Linked DNA regions of Homo sapiens: region 2 is linked to region 1. Evidence: promoter capture Hi-C in human tissues and cell types (Jung and others, 2019). All regions are on one chromosome and are shown on one strand. The core of a region is centred on a gene start or on the middle of the fragment in contact, and the rest is flanking DNA. Distances in the headings are between cores, read along the strand shown.

The links. Contacts are between HindIII fragments. The study calls those that stand out against the background at their distance.
Region 2: a fragment that was not itself captured here is called in contact with the fragment with the promoter of RAB11FIP3 in region 1 in 1 of the 25 tissues and cell types used here (dorsolateral prefrontal cortex).

The regions. Positions count from the first base shown.
Region 1 is chr16:419,474-426,898 of GRCh38, reverse strand. It overlaps RAB11FIP3 (RAB11 family interacting protein 3), which reads right to left and starts at 1,250. Exons shown (of 14, transcript NM_014700.4): 1 at 179-1,250. The coding sequence starts at 892. The HindIII fragment of the contact is 17,968 bases long and covers 1-7,425 here.
Region 2 is chr16:293,566-300,789 of GRCh38, reverse strand. AXIN1 (axin 1) reads left to right here. Exons shown (of 11, transcript NM_003502.4): 6 at 2,539-3,068; 7 at 3,564-3,734; 8 at 7,072-7,224. Among named protein-coding and RNA genes, the nearest start is that of PDIA2, 14 kb to the right of the region's middle. The HindIII fragment of the contact is 5,628 bases long and covers 3,161-7,224 here.

The sequences.
Region 1 (7,425 bases), core at 1-2,500:
AGCGCAATTCAACCAGAAATCCAGGGCCGAAGTGGTGAATAAGCAGAAAAAGCAGGACCGTCAGGTCTTGACAGTGCCTTTCCCGACTCCAGGGGCAGCGTCGACCGGTCCCACATCAACCCCGCCGGCCAGCGCGCACCTGCCCAGTTCCCACGCCCCGGCCCGGGCCGCTCCGTACCTGCTCTGCCCCGTAGACCGTAGCAAACTGGATGAAGTCCTCGATGCGGACGAAACCGTCCCCATCCCCGTCCAGGGCATCGAACACGGCTCGGAGGCGGGGGCCGTCCTCCTGACTCCCCACGGGCTCGCTCGGAAGGGGGTGGGTCTGGCTGAGGTCCGAGGGCTGCGGCGGGGACCCGGGACCTTGCTCCAGCGCCAGCTCGCCCGCCGTGGGCGCGGGGAAGGGAGAGAAGACGTCGACCTCGCCCCGCGCTCGGTGGCTGCTGCTGGACCCCTGCAAGCGGAAAGGCGCGCTCTCCGGGCAGCTCGCGGGGCCACACTCCTCGGGCTCCTCAGTCCAGGAGAACAACGGGTCGAGTTCTGGAAGCGGCGCTTCGGAGCGCGGCCCTGGGCCCGGGGCGTCGGGGCTCGCAAGCTGCCCCCGCGGGCCGGAGCGCGGCGGCGGGGCGGACGGCCCGGGGTCTCGCGGGCCTCCCTCCAGCCCCGGGGCCGGCCCGGCGCTCCAACGCGCCCCGCCATCTGCAGCGGCCCCGGGCGCAGGCTCATCCAGGCCCGGGGACTGCGGGTCGGGGCCGCCGACGGGCGCTCCGAGGCGTAGCTCCGCAGGGCCCGGAGCCAGTTGTGCCGCCCCCGGCCCGTCCGGCCCGCCCGGCTCCGGGTCGGGCCCCGGCGGCTCCGAGCCCGGGGGCGAGGCCGGCGGGGCCGACGCCATGCTCCCGAGAGGCTAGTGGTGCGGAAGGGCGCGGGCGGCAGACAAAGGCGCTCAGGGCGCGGCGGCGGGCGCGGGCATCCCCTCGGCGGCGCGGGCGGGCGCGCGCGGGGCGCCCGGGCTGCTGGGGCTGGCGCTCGGGCCCTGCTCTGTCCTCGCCCATCTTCGCACCGCGCCTCAGCTGCCCTCGGCCCGGCGGCGCGGCGGGCGCAGGCCCATGGCGGCGGGGCGGCCTAGGGAGGGCGGCGAGGATCCGGGCGGCGGATGGCGGGGGACGGGGGCCGAGGAGGCCGGGGGACGGGGGCCGAGGAGGCCGGAGGCCGCGGAGCCTGTGAAGCAGGATGAGGAGACTAAGGAGGCTGAGGCGCCTGAGGTACCCGGAGAACTAACGCCGCCGCCGCCCAGGCCCCGCCCCCCGTCGGGCCTGACGTCAGCACGTCCCGGCGGGGTCCCAGCCCCTCGCCGGCTTGCTGTAGAGGCAGGCGCCGGGTGTGTCGCGGCAGTGCAGCGGCCGCGAAGGGGTGTTTTGCTGTATGTCATATTCCTCGTTTCGCCAGAGCGGGGGTCCCGAGCTTCGGGCGCGGGACGCGGGGGTGCTCCGAGGCTGCGAGTGGAGGCGTGACGTGACGTCCCTGGCAAGAGGCGCGCGGAGTCAGGCCTTACTTAGAACGTGTTCCCGCCGCACAGCTACCAGCGGGCGCGACCGCTACCCACGCATGGTGCGGTCGAGTAAACGGCACCGCCTGGCGAGCGAGAGACGCAAAGGGACATAGCCCCCTAGGAGCTGAGCTCTTCGGGGGTAAAGCGTTCTCACGTTGATGAGACCAGGAGGCGGCGCACGCCTGGCTCCGCGGCCCAGGGGTTGCAGGTGCCCCAGGGTTCGCGGGGCGCAGACGCCGCAGAGGGCGACGCCCTGCCCGGGTCCCGCGCGGACCCGGGGGACGCAGGGTCTGACACGGAGTGCGGAGGGGCCCCAGACACGCAGTCCATGTCCCTTGAAACCAGAGGCACGCGCGGCCACGCGCTAGGCCTTTCCCTTAAGCCTGTGACCAAGATCTCCGGGACTCCCAGCGTTGGGACGGGCGCGCTGGCCCACGCCCAAGCGGGAGGATCGCTTGCGCCCAGGAGATTGAGACCAGCCTGAGCACCAAAGCGAGACCTCGTCTCTACAAAAAATAAGACTCAAGAAGACACCCAGGGTGAATCGCCCGTCTGCAGCCAGCCTCCCGAGCACCGTGGCCGCGTCTGACAACTGACCTCTGTGTCTGGGTGTCCCTGTCCTCAGAGGGACACGGGACCTCAGAAAGGACCACAGCCCGGCGGCAGGCATGATGGTGGGAAAGCTAGTTAGGACAGGTGAGGCACTAAATTTAGCCTGTCATAATTTGTATCAGGGAAATGATGAACTTGTATTTTTACACACCATGGGCACCAACACAAGATATGGTTTCGTAAGCAGCTTTGGCAAGAACCAAAGGAACGGAACCTCTGCTTCCAAGTGTACGGTCAGGAGCAGCGTGTTAATTAAGTGAGTCATCTTCCGTGGCAGAATCCCAGGGTACATGGGACCAGACTTCGCGAGGCTGGCATTAGGAAAAGGAATGTGAGGGATCCTCCTCCCCAAACCGTATTCTCATTTTCTTGTAAGAGCTGTACGTGTTCATGAGGAAGATACTGCATTCAAAGAACGAAATCACCAGCAGCTTTGGCAAGAATTCAAATTTGGGCTGATGCCTTCGGCCGGATAAAATTTTCAGAAGCAGTGATAGTGATGTGTCAACCTTTCTAAATAGGGGTGTTAGTGTGGGCGAGGCAGAGACAGCAGGCTCCCTCTGCTTTTATGTGCCGGCGCTGCCAGAGGCAGAAGGCTGGCTTTCTGAGAGCAGGGGCCCGCACGCTCTGTCTGTGCTAGGGCTGGAAAACGTCCATTGCGTGCCCGGCTGGTGTCCTCCATGGAACCACAGCCTGGAAGCCTGCACCTCCCTGCCTGGACCAGTTAGAGGCTGTTCATGAAAGACTAAAGGGACAAGTTCCCGTCTATCCGTCTGCTGTTCAGAGCTACTATCTGTGTCCCCTTTGTAGGCTGTGGGCTGTAGCAGTTCCTTCTTTTCTTTTCTTTTCTTTTTTTTCCCCGAGACAGGGTTTTGCTCTGTTGCCCAGGCTGCAGTGCAGTGGTGCGACCATAGCTCACGGCAGCCTCAACCTCCTAGGCTCAAGAGATCCTCCCACCTTAGGCCAGGTGTGGTAGCTCATGCCTGTAATCCCAGGACTGTGGGAGGCTGAGGCGGGCGGATCACGAGGTCAGAAAATGGAGACCATCCTGGCTAACACGGTGAAACCCCGTCTCTACTAAAAATACAAAAAAACAAAAATTAGCCAGGTGTGGTGGCAGGCACCTGTAGTCCCAGCTATTTGGGAGGCTGAGGCAGGAGAAAGGCGTGAACCCGGGAGGCAGAGCTTGCAGCGAGCCAAGATTGCACCATTGCACTCCAGCCTGGATGATAGAGCAAGACTCCGTCTCCAAAATAAAAAATAAAAATAGAAGAGAGATCCTCCCACCTCAGCCTCTCCAGTAGCTGAGACCACAGATCTGCAGCACCTTATTATCTTTTTTTTTTTTTTGATATGGAGTCTCACTCTGTCGCCCAGGCTGGAGTGCAATGGCGCGATCTCTGGTCACTGCAACCTCCGCCTCCCGGGTTCAAGTGATTCCCCTACCTCAGCCTCCTGAGTAGCTGGGATTACAGGCGTATGCCACCAAGGCCGGCTAATTTTTTGTATTTTTAGTAGAGACCGGGGTTTCACCATGTTGGTCAAGCTGGTCTCAAACTCCTGACCTCAAGTGATCCGCCCACCTCGGCCTCCCAAAGTGCTGGGATTATTGGCATGAGTCACCACACTTGGCCTCAACATGCGTTTTGGAGGGTATAAACATTCAAAGCATAGCCTCCATCTTCTCACTCTGTCCTCACATGTTGGAGAAAGATTGTCTCTTTTGGGCTGGGCGTGGGAGCTCATGCCTGTAATTCCAGCACTTTGGGAGGCCGAGGCGGGTGGATCACGAGGTCAGGAGTTCAAGACCAGCCTGGCCAAGATGGTGAAACCCCGTATCTACTAAAAAATAGAAAATTTAGGCCGGGCGCGGTTGCTCAGCCTATAATCCCAGCACTTTGGGAGGCAAGGTGGGCGGATCACAAGGTCAAGAGATCGAAAACATCCTGGCAAACATGGTGAAACCCTGTCTCTACTAAAAATACAAAAATTAGCCGGGTGTGGTGGCACCCACCTGTAGTCCCAGCTACTCGGGAGCCTGAGGGAGGAGAATCGCTTGAACCTGGGAGGCAGAGGTTGCAGTGAGCGAAGATCGCACCACTGCACTCCAGCCTGGCGACAGAGCGAGACTCCACCTAAAAAATATATGTATATATTAGCCGGCCGTGGTGGCGGGCACCTGTAATCCCAGCTACTCAGGAGGCTGAGGCAAAGAATTGCTTGAACCCGGGAGGTGGAGGTTGCAGTGAGTCAAGATCACACCACTGTACTGCAGCCTGGGTGATGGAGTGAGACTCTGTCTCAAAAAAAAAGAAAAAAAATTATCCGGGGGCGGTGGCGGGTGCGTGTAATCCCAGCTACTCAGGAGGCTGAACAGGGTAATCACTTGAGCCTGGGAGGCAGAGGTTGCAATGAGCTGAGATCCAGCCACTACACTCCAGCCTGGGCAACAGAGCGAGACTATCTCAAAAAAAAAAAAAAGGCGGGCGTAATGGCTCACGCCTGTAATCCCAACACTTTAGGAGGCCAAGGCGGGTGGATAACCTGAGGTCAGGAGTTCGAGACTAGCCTGGCCAACATGGTAAAACCCTGTCTCTACTAAAAATACAAAAACTAGCTGAGCGTGGTGGCGTGTCCTGTAATCCCAGCTACCTGGGAGGCTGAGGCAGGAGAATACTTGAACCCGGGAGGTGGAGGTTGCAGTGAGCCAAGATCCCACCATTGCACTCCAGCCTGGGCAACAAGAGGGAAACTCCATCTCAAGGAAAACAATAAAATAAAAATAAGGCTGGGCACGGTGCCTCACGCCTGTAATCCCAGCACTCTGGGAGACCGATGCGGGTGGATTACCTGAGGTCAGGAGTTCAAGACCAGGCTTGCCATGGTGAAACCCCATCTCTACTAAAAATACAAAAAATTAGCCAGGCATGGTGGTGCATGCCTGTAATCCCAGCTACTTGGGAGGCTGAGGCAGGAGAATCACTAGAACCTGGGAGGCGGAGGTTGCAGTGAATCGAGATTGTGCCATGGCACTCCAGCCTGGGCAGCAAGAGTGAAACTCCGTCTCAAAAAAAGAAAAAAGAAAAAAAAAGACTGTCTCTTCTAATAAGGGCACTGTTCCCATCGTGAGGGCCCCACCTTGCTGACCGTATCTAACCCTAATTATTATTATTATTATTTTTTTTTGAGACGGAGTCTTGCTCTGTCGTCCAGGCTGAAGTGCAATGGCGCCATCTCAGCTCACTGCAATCTCTGCCTCCCGGATTCATGCCATTCTCCTGCCTCAGCCTCCCCAGTAGCTGGGACCACAGGCACCCGCCACCATGCCTGGCTAATTGTTTTGTATTTTTACTAGAGCCGGGGTTTCACCGTGTTAACCAGGATGGTCTCGATCTCCTGAGCTCATGATCCACCCGCCTCGGCATCCCAAAGTGCTGGGATTACAGGCGTGAGCCACCGCGCCCGGCCCTAACCCTAAGTTATACCTCCCAAAGACCTCATCTCCAAATACCATCCCGTTGGCGTTAGGACTCCAATATATAAATTTTGGGGTAGCAACTGGGAAGAGAGAGTTAGAATGGATTTAATGGACAAAATATTCATTTCTAGAATACACAAAAGAATTTCTCAAAAAACAGTAAACGAACAGCAACCCGATAGAAAAACGAGGAAAGAATATGAATAAGCAGCTCCAGAAGAGGAAATTCAGGTGGCCGGTAAACACATGAAAAAGATGCTCATCTTCACTGGTCACCAGGAAAATGTGTGAGTGTAGCCCTTGACACCAATCAGAGTAAGTCTGGGGACACCAGGGAGTGGGGATTTGGCACCAGTCGTGCAGCTGAAGGTCGGAATACTCCAGTGTGGGATCCGCCTTCCAGTACCTGCCGGAGAAACTGCACATGTCCGCAGGGAGATGGAAAGACCTTGTTTCCTTCGGGGATTTGTACTTCTCTGGAAGAAGAGCCGAACGGCTTCAGTGGAGCCTGTTGTCTGTTGTGAAGTGTAGCAGTTTAAGTGAGTGCACCACATCTGCACAATTGATAGTACATGCTATGTAATACCATTTTTCATTTATTTTTTTAGACAGAATTCTGTTCTTGTTGCCCAGGCCGGAGTGCAGTGGCACGGTCTCAGCTCACGGCAGCCTCCATCTCCTGGGTTCAAGCGATTCTCCTGCCTCAGCCTCCCGAGTAGCTGGGATTACAGGTGCCCGCCACCACACCCAGCTAATTTTTGTATTTTTCGTAGAGACGGGGTTGCACCATCTCGGCCAGGCTGATCTGGAACTCCTGACCTCAGGTGATCTGCCCGCCTTGGCTTCCCAAAGTGCTAGGATTACAGGCGTGAGCCAACGTGCCTAGCCAATTTTTGTTAAGTTTAAAAACACATGATCAATGACCTATCTTGTTTTCAAATGCTTTCGTTTGTAGTAAAAAATACCTAAACATACTTGAGAATTACATTGAGGCCGTGTGCGGTGGCTCACACCTGTAATCCCAACTTTGGGAGGCCAATGGGGTGGATCACTTGAGGTCAGGAGTTCAAGACCAGCCTGGCCAAAATACTGAAACCTGTCTCTACAAAAATACAAAAAATTAGCCAGGCATGGTGGCGCATGCCTGTAATCCCAGCTACTGGGGAGGCTGAGGCAGGAGAATTGCTAGAACCCCGGAGACGGAGGTTGCAGTGAGCTGAGATCACACCATTGCACTCCAGCCTGGGTAACAGAGCGAGACTCTGTCTCAAAAAAAAAAAAAAAAAGAAAGAAAGAAAAAAGAATTATATTCAAGAGGACAGACAGAAGAGAAAGGGTGAAGTACAACTTTGACTATATCTATAACATTCATTTCCACTGGGCACAGTGGGTCATGCCTGTAATCCCAGCACTTTGGGAGGCTGAGGCAGGAGGATCACTTAAGCCCAGGAGTTCAAAAAACAAACAAAAAAACATTAGCCAGGTGTGGTGGTGCACACCTGTAGTCCCGGCTACTCAAGAGACTGAGGTGGGAGGAGCTCTTAAGACCCAGAGGTTTTTCTGGATTCCACATATAAATGAGACCATGAAGTCTTCTTTCTCTGACTGGCTTATTTCACTTAGCATAATGCTGGAGTCCAGTAATTTGAAGCTGTAGTGAGCTGTGATTGTGCCTGTGAATAGCCCTGCACTCCAGCCTGGGCAACGGGGCAAAACTCCCTCTCTAAAGTAAGAAAACGTTTAAAAACTTAGCATAGGCCGGGTGCGGTGGCTCACGCCTGTAATC
Region 2 (7,224 bases), core at 4,725-7,224, 130 kb after region 1:
TTCTCCCCAGAGTGCCCGGGCCCTTTAGTCCTACAAAACCAAGGAAAGGGAGGCAGCATAGCTGCATCCGCCAGGGGATGCCCACCACCCACCTGTCCCCCGGCTCTGCTCCAGCATCCGTCTGTCCTCTTTAGTGCCATATTTCACCCTCAGCCCCAGTGCAGGTGCCCGCAGCCAAGCCCACACCAGCTCTGGGGCACGCCTGTTCCAGTTGCATTTGGATACTTTTGCAGGTGTGAGAGTTGGGTGCTAAACGTTGGGAGGTTTGTTTATATTAAAATATAGAGGTAGGTGGGGCACAGTGGCTCACATCTGTAATCCCAACACTTTGAGAGGCCAAGACAGAAGGATCACTTGAGGCCAGGAATTTAAGAGCAGGTTGGACAACATAGTGAGATTCCCCATCTCTACAAAAAAAAAAGAAAAAGAAAAAATTAATGGGACATGGTGGCATGCACCTGTAGTCCCAGCTACTTGGCAGGCTGAAGCAGGAGGATCGCTTGACCCCTGGAGGTTGAGGCTGCCTTGAGCTGTGATGGCACCACTGCGATTAGGTGTGGTGGCTCACACCTGTAATCCTAGCACTTTGGGAGGCCAAGGTGGGTGGATCACCTGAGGTCAGGAGTTCGAGACCAGCCTGGCAAACAGGGTGAAACCCAGTCTCTACTAAAAATACAAAAAATTTAGCTGGGCATGGTGGTGGGTGCCTGTAATCCCAGCTACCCGGGAGGCTGAGGCAGGAGAATTACTTGAACCCGGGAGGCGGAGATTGCACTACAGCCTGGGACACAAGAGTGAAACTCCGTCTCAAAAAAAAATTAAATAAATAAAAATAGGCCGGGCACGGTGGCTCACACTTGTAATCCCAGCACTTTGGGAGGCCGAGGTGGGCAGATCACGAGGTCGGGAGATCGAGACCATCCTGGCTAACACGGTGAAACTCCATCTCTACTAAAAATATAAAAAATTAGCCGGGCGTGGTGGCGGGCACCTGTAGTCCCAGCTACTGGGCAGGCTGAGGCAGGAGAATGGTGTGAACCCGGGAGACGGAGGTTGCAGTGAGCCGAGATCGTGCCACTGCACTCCAGCCTGGGTGACAGAGCGAGACTCTGTCTCAAAAAAATGAAAATAAATAGGCCGGTTGTGGTGGCTCACTCCTGTAATCCCAGCACTTTGGGAGGCCGAGGGTGGTGGATTACCTGAGGTTAGGAGTTTGAGACCAGCCTGGCCAACATGGTGAAACCCCGTCTCTACTAAAAATACAAAAAAATTAGGCAGGCATGGTGGCACACTCCTATAATCCCAGCTACTCGGTAGGCTGAGGCAGGAGGATTGCTTGAGCCCGGGAGGTGGAGGTTGCAGTGAGCCAAGATCGTGCCACTGCACTCCAGCCTGGCTGACAGAGCGACTCTGACTCTAAATAAATAAATACATACATAGATACATGGTAACTTAGTTCCCTCTCTTTCTTTTGTATTGACACCAGATTTACTCAATACTGTTTTAGTTTGTCAGTCCAATAAGATGAGAAAATAAGTATGAGATGCAACTTGGAATTAAAGTGATCAAATGTTTGCTCTGACAGATAAGCTTCAGCACCTGTTAACTTGGAGAATCAAGTGAAACTCCACCGGCTTCATGTGGAAGCTCGTCAGGCAGCATCACAACATGTACATAACCCAAGAGCCGTTCTGTACAAGGTTCTCCTTAAAATATAATGGGAGGCCGGGCGCGGCGGCTCATGCCTGTCATCCCAACACTTTGGGAGGCCGAGGTGGGTGGATCATGAGGTCAGGAGTTCGAGACCAGCCTGGCCAACATAGTGAAATCCTGTCTCTACTAAAAATACAAAAATTAGCTGGGTGTGGTGGCGCACACCTGTAGTCTCAGCTACTTGGGAGGCTGAAGGAGGAGAATCACTTGAACCCAGGAGGCAGAGGTTGCAGGGAGCCGAGATGGCACCATTGCACTCCAGCCTGGGTAACAGAGCAAGACTCTGTCTCAAAAAATATATATATATACAGGCCAAGGCAGGCAGATTGCTTGAGCTCAGGCATTCGAGACCAGCCTGGCCAATATGGTGAGAATCGCATCTGTCCCCAAAGTACAAAAAAATTAGCTGGGCGTGGTGGCACACGGCTGTGGTCTCCGCTATTCTGGAGGCTGAGGTGGGAGGATCGCTTGAGCCTAGGAGGCGGAGGCTGCAGTGAGCTGAGATCACACCACTGTTCTCCAGCCTGGGCAACAGAGCAAGAACTTGTCTCAAAAAAAGAATAAAACTAAACTAAATCTGTGCAGAGCTCTGCCCACAGCCGATACATACGCTGCATTCCTTGAGGCCTTGCTGTCTCCGCTCCTTCTGTCTATGCCCCGTCCTGCCTCTCCATCCTCAGGGACAGGACCGGTGGCGAGGGGCCCCCGGCCACCCTGGGCTGGGACGGCATCTGCTGGGGCTGCTGGGTCAGGCCTGATGCTTTTTGTTTTCCCCAAGTGTGCAGCTGGTGCTGAGAGGTGATGGTGCTGCTTGTCCCCACACAGGAGGAGGAAGGTGAGGACGGCGATCCATCGTCAGGGCCCCCAGGGCCGTGTCACAAGCTGCCTCCCGCCCCCGCTTGGCACCACTTCCCGCCCCGCTGTGTGGACATGGGCTGTGCCGGGCTCCGGGATGCACACGAGGAGAACCCTGAGAGCATCCTGGACGAGCACGTACAGCGTGTGCTGAGGACACCTGGCCGCCAGTCGCCTGGGCCTGGCCATCGCTCCCCGGACAGTGGGCACGTGGCCAAGATGCCAGTGGCACTGGGGGGTGCCGCCTCGGGGCACGGGAAGCACGTACCCAAGTCAGGGGCGAAGCTGGACGCGGCCGGCCTGCACCACCACCGACACGTCCACCACCACGTCCACCACAGCACAGCCCGGCCCAAGGAGCAGGTGGAGGCCGAGGCCACCCGCAGGGCCCAGAGCAGCTTCGCCTGGGGCCTGGAACCACACAGCCATGGGGCAAGGTCCCGAGGCTACTCAGAGAGTGTTGGCGCTGCCCCCAACGCCAGTGATGGCCTCGCCCACAGGTGAGCGTGCGCCTGTCAGTGAGGAGGGGGCTTGGGGTGAGGCTGTGTCCCTGCAGAAGGCCAGAACCTCCTCATAAAACTCAGGAAACCCAGGACCGCCAGCAACAGGCAGGAGGCCCCTCTGCTGGAGGGAGTGGACTGGGCCCTGGGTCAGGGGAGTCCACGCCGTGACCTCAGGTGGGAGATGAAGGTTAGGGGACACAGCCCGACCCTGGCTCCCGCTCTGGCCCTCAGTCTTCAGGGGGTGAGCAGTGACTGCCTGTGTGTTTAGAGAGGAAACCAACCCCCAGACAGCACCAGGACAGCGGGCAGGGGACAGCGGGTGGGGGACAAGCTGGCGGGGGACAGCGGGTGGGGGACAAGCGGGCAGGGGACAGCGGGCGGCGGCTGCACCACGGGAGCCTTACAGATGCCAGGAGGGGGCCTCGCAGACGAGGAAGGGGCACAGCCTCGGCCACCGGAGGCCAGGGCGACTCGCAGCTCTTGCCCTTGCAGTGGGAAGGTGGGCGTGGCGTGCAAAAGAAATGCCAAGAAGGCTGAGTCGGGGAAGAGCGCCAGCACCGAGGTGCCAGGTGCCTCGGAGGATGCGGAGAAGAACCAGAAAATCATGCAGTGGATCATTGAGGGGGAAAAGGAGATCAGCAGGCACCGCAGGACCGGCCACGGGTGAGCACCCCGCACGCAGCCAGCCTCGTGGGGCCTGCTTTGCCACCCCTGGCCTCCGCACAGTCTCAGTGTGTGCAGCTTCAGTGTGTGTGGCGAGTGTCGCCTGTGACGCCTCACACTTCCCCTGTCACTGTGGCACCCTCCCGGGCACCCTCCAGCAGGCTCCCTGGGCCCCACGTCTCCAGGAGGAAAACCTCATGTCCCCAGAGAGAGGCTGTCCCTGAAGCCCCGAGCAGGAGGGAAGCTGACGTGGCTGTCACCCCGCAGGCAGCACAGATGCTCTCGGGAGGTCATTTCCAGTCTGACCCCCACATGAGAATGACCTAAGTCACCTGGGAAGGCCCCCACTGACCATCACTCCCGAGGTGCCCACGGAGGAGCCTTCTGTGCTCACACCTGGCCGTCCTGCTGAGGGCTGGGGAAGGCTCTTGTGTAGCGTGAGCACTTCTCTCCTCCCAGAAGGGCAGAGGCCTCGTGTGTGGTGTGGAGCAAGGCCCCGGCGCCACAGGTCCAGCCCCTGCCGCTGCCCGCCGGGCCGGTCTTGGTGTTGCTCCTGCTCGCCCCCTGGGCCTGCACTCGTGCCCGGAACCCAGCAGGAGGGCCAGGGGCCCCACAGAGGTGGTACCCCCCACCTTCCTGTCGTGGTCAGAGGCAGGTCAGCTGGGAAGTGTTGGCCCTGGTGGGTGGATGGCCCCAGCTTCCTCAGACTTAGGTCCTGATCTGCCCCCCACCCTCACCCAGGCCCTGGCCAGGACGCATCTCCCTCCACATTACTTGATGAGAACTTGTGAGGCAGCTGAGCGCCTGGGGCGTGGCCCTCCTGCCTGTGTTGGAAGCCTGTCCCGCAAGGCCTTGGGGTCCCCATCGGTGCTGACTGAGGTGGGGACGGGCTCATCGTTTTTCTGGGGCTCCCGAGGGAACAGGGGTGCACAGCACCTTGCCTGGCTCATTTTTTGTAGAGGGGGTCTCAGTGTGTTGCCCAGCTGGGTCTCAAGCTTTTGGGCTCAAGTGATCCTCCCACCTTGGCCTCCCAAAATGCTGGGACTACAGGCATGAGCCACCATTCCTGGCCTTCGAGTCTTTTTTTTTGAGACGGAGTCTAGCTCTGTCGCCCGGGCTGGAGTGCAGTGGTGCAATCTTGGCTAACTGCAACCTCCACCTCCTGGGTTCAAGCAATTCTCCTGCCTCAGCCTCCCGAGTAGCTGGGATTACAGGCGTGAGCCACCACGCCCGGCTGATTTTTGTATTTTTAGTAGAGACCGGGGCAGGGGGTGGTTGCCATGTTAGGCTGATCTCGAACTCCCAACCTTTGGTGATCCGCCTGCCTCGGCCTCCTGGAGTGCTAGGATTACAGGCGTGAGCCACCGTGCCCGGCCGAATCCTTTTTTTAAATAGCTGTATATACTAAATATTGCATGTCCCATATTTTAGGATAAGTATTAATACATTCCACTTTGAGACATACTTATACTTTTTATTCATTAAGACTTTTTTTTTAATTTTTTGCGACAGAGTCTCCCTCTGTCACCCTGGCTGAAGTGCAGTGGTGTAATCACACCGTTCACTGCAGTCTCAGCCTCCTGGACTCAAAGCTATCCGCCGGCCTCTAGGATTAGTATATAATTTGTATCCCAGTAAAGCTGTTAAAAATAAAATGTAAAAAAAGAAGCCTCATCCCAGCACTTTGGGAGGCCGAGGCAGGTGGATCGCTTGAGGTCCGGAGTTCGAGACCAGACTGGCCAACATGACAAAAACTCCATCTCTACTAAAAAAAATACAAAAAATTAGCCGTGTGTGGTGGCGAGTGCCAGTAATCCCAGCTACTCGGTGGCTGAGGCAGGAGAGTCGCTTGAACCTGGGAGGCGGAGATTGCAGTGAGCCGAGATCCGAGGTCGAGCCATTGCACTGCAGCCTGGGCAACAAGAGCAAAACTCTGTCTCAAAAAAAGAAAAAAAAAAAGTCTCCATGAAAGAATTTTTTTTTTTTTTTTTTGAGACGGAGTCTTGCTCTGTTGCCCAGGCTGGAGTGCAGTGGCCTGATCTCAGCTCACTGCAAGCCTCGCCTCCCGGGTTCATGCCATTCTCCTGCCTCAGCCTCAAGAGCAGCTGGGACTGCAGGCGCCCGCCACCACGCCCGGCTAATTTTTTGTATTTTTTTAGTAGAGGTGGGGTTTCACCGTGTTAGCCAGGACGGTCTCGATCTCTTGACCTCGTGATCCGCCCTCCTCAGCCTCCCAAAGTGCTGGGATTACAGGCGTGAGCCACCGCGCCTGGCCTTTTTTTTTTTTTTTTTTTTTTTTTGAGATGGGGTTTCGCTCCTGTGGCTCAGGCTGGAGTGCAACAGGCCAGTGTCAACGCACTGCAACCTCCACCTCCCAGGTTCAAGTGGTTCTCCTGTCTAACCCACCTGAGTAGCTGGGATTACAGGCACCCACTATTATGCCCAGTTAACTTTTTGTATTTTTGTAGAAACAGGGTTTCACCATGTTGGCCAGGCTGGTCTTGAACTCCTGACCTCAGATGATCCACCCGCCTCGGCCTCCCAGCGTGCTGGGATTACCGCGCCTGGCCATTTTTTTTTTTTTTTTTTTTTTTTGAGATGGAGTCTCACTCTTGCCTAGGCTGGAGTGCAGTGGTGCAATCTCAGCTCACCGCAACCTCTGCCTCCCAGGTTCAAGCGATTCTCCTGCCTCAGCCTCCCGAGTAACTAGAATTACTGGTATCCACCACCACACTTGGGTAATTTTTTGTATTTTTTGAGTAGAGTCATGGTTTTGCCATGTTGGCCAGGCTGTTCTTGAACTCCTGACCTCAGGCGATCCACCCACCTTGGCCTCCCAGAGTATTGGGATTACAGGCAAATGAGGGTTGGTTTTTTGTTGTCTTTTTTATTCCTGAGACTGAGCCTCACTCTGTCACCCAGGCTGGAGTGCGGTGGCGTGATCCCGGCTCACTGTAACCTCCACTTCCCCAGTTCCAGCCATTCTCGGGCCCCAGCCTCCAGAGTAGCAGGGATGACAGGCGCCCAGCTAATTTTGTATATTTAGTAGCGATGAGGTTTCACCATGTTAGGTTGATCTCGAACTCCCGACCTCTGGTGATCTGCCCGCCTCGGCCTCCCGAAATGCTGGGATTACAGGTGTGAGCCACCATGCCTGGCCGGGATGTTTTTATTGTGTGGTCTGTGGAGGACGTCCATGTGGCTTGGTGGCCAGGCCCCAGTGCCCCATCCCATCCTATCCCTCAAGGAGGCTGCCCTTGTGAGATGAGTGTAGCCCCACCAGGCCACCTGGCCAGGGTGTCGGCCACAGTCACAACTTGTTCTCTTGTTCCCCAAGGTCTTCGGGGACGAGGAAGCCACAGCCCCATGAGAACTCCAGACCCTTGTCCCTTGAGCACCCCTGGGCCGGCCCTCAGCTCCGGACCTCCGTGCAGCCCTCCCACCTCTTCATCCAAGACCCCACCATGCCACCCCACCCAGCTCCCAACCC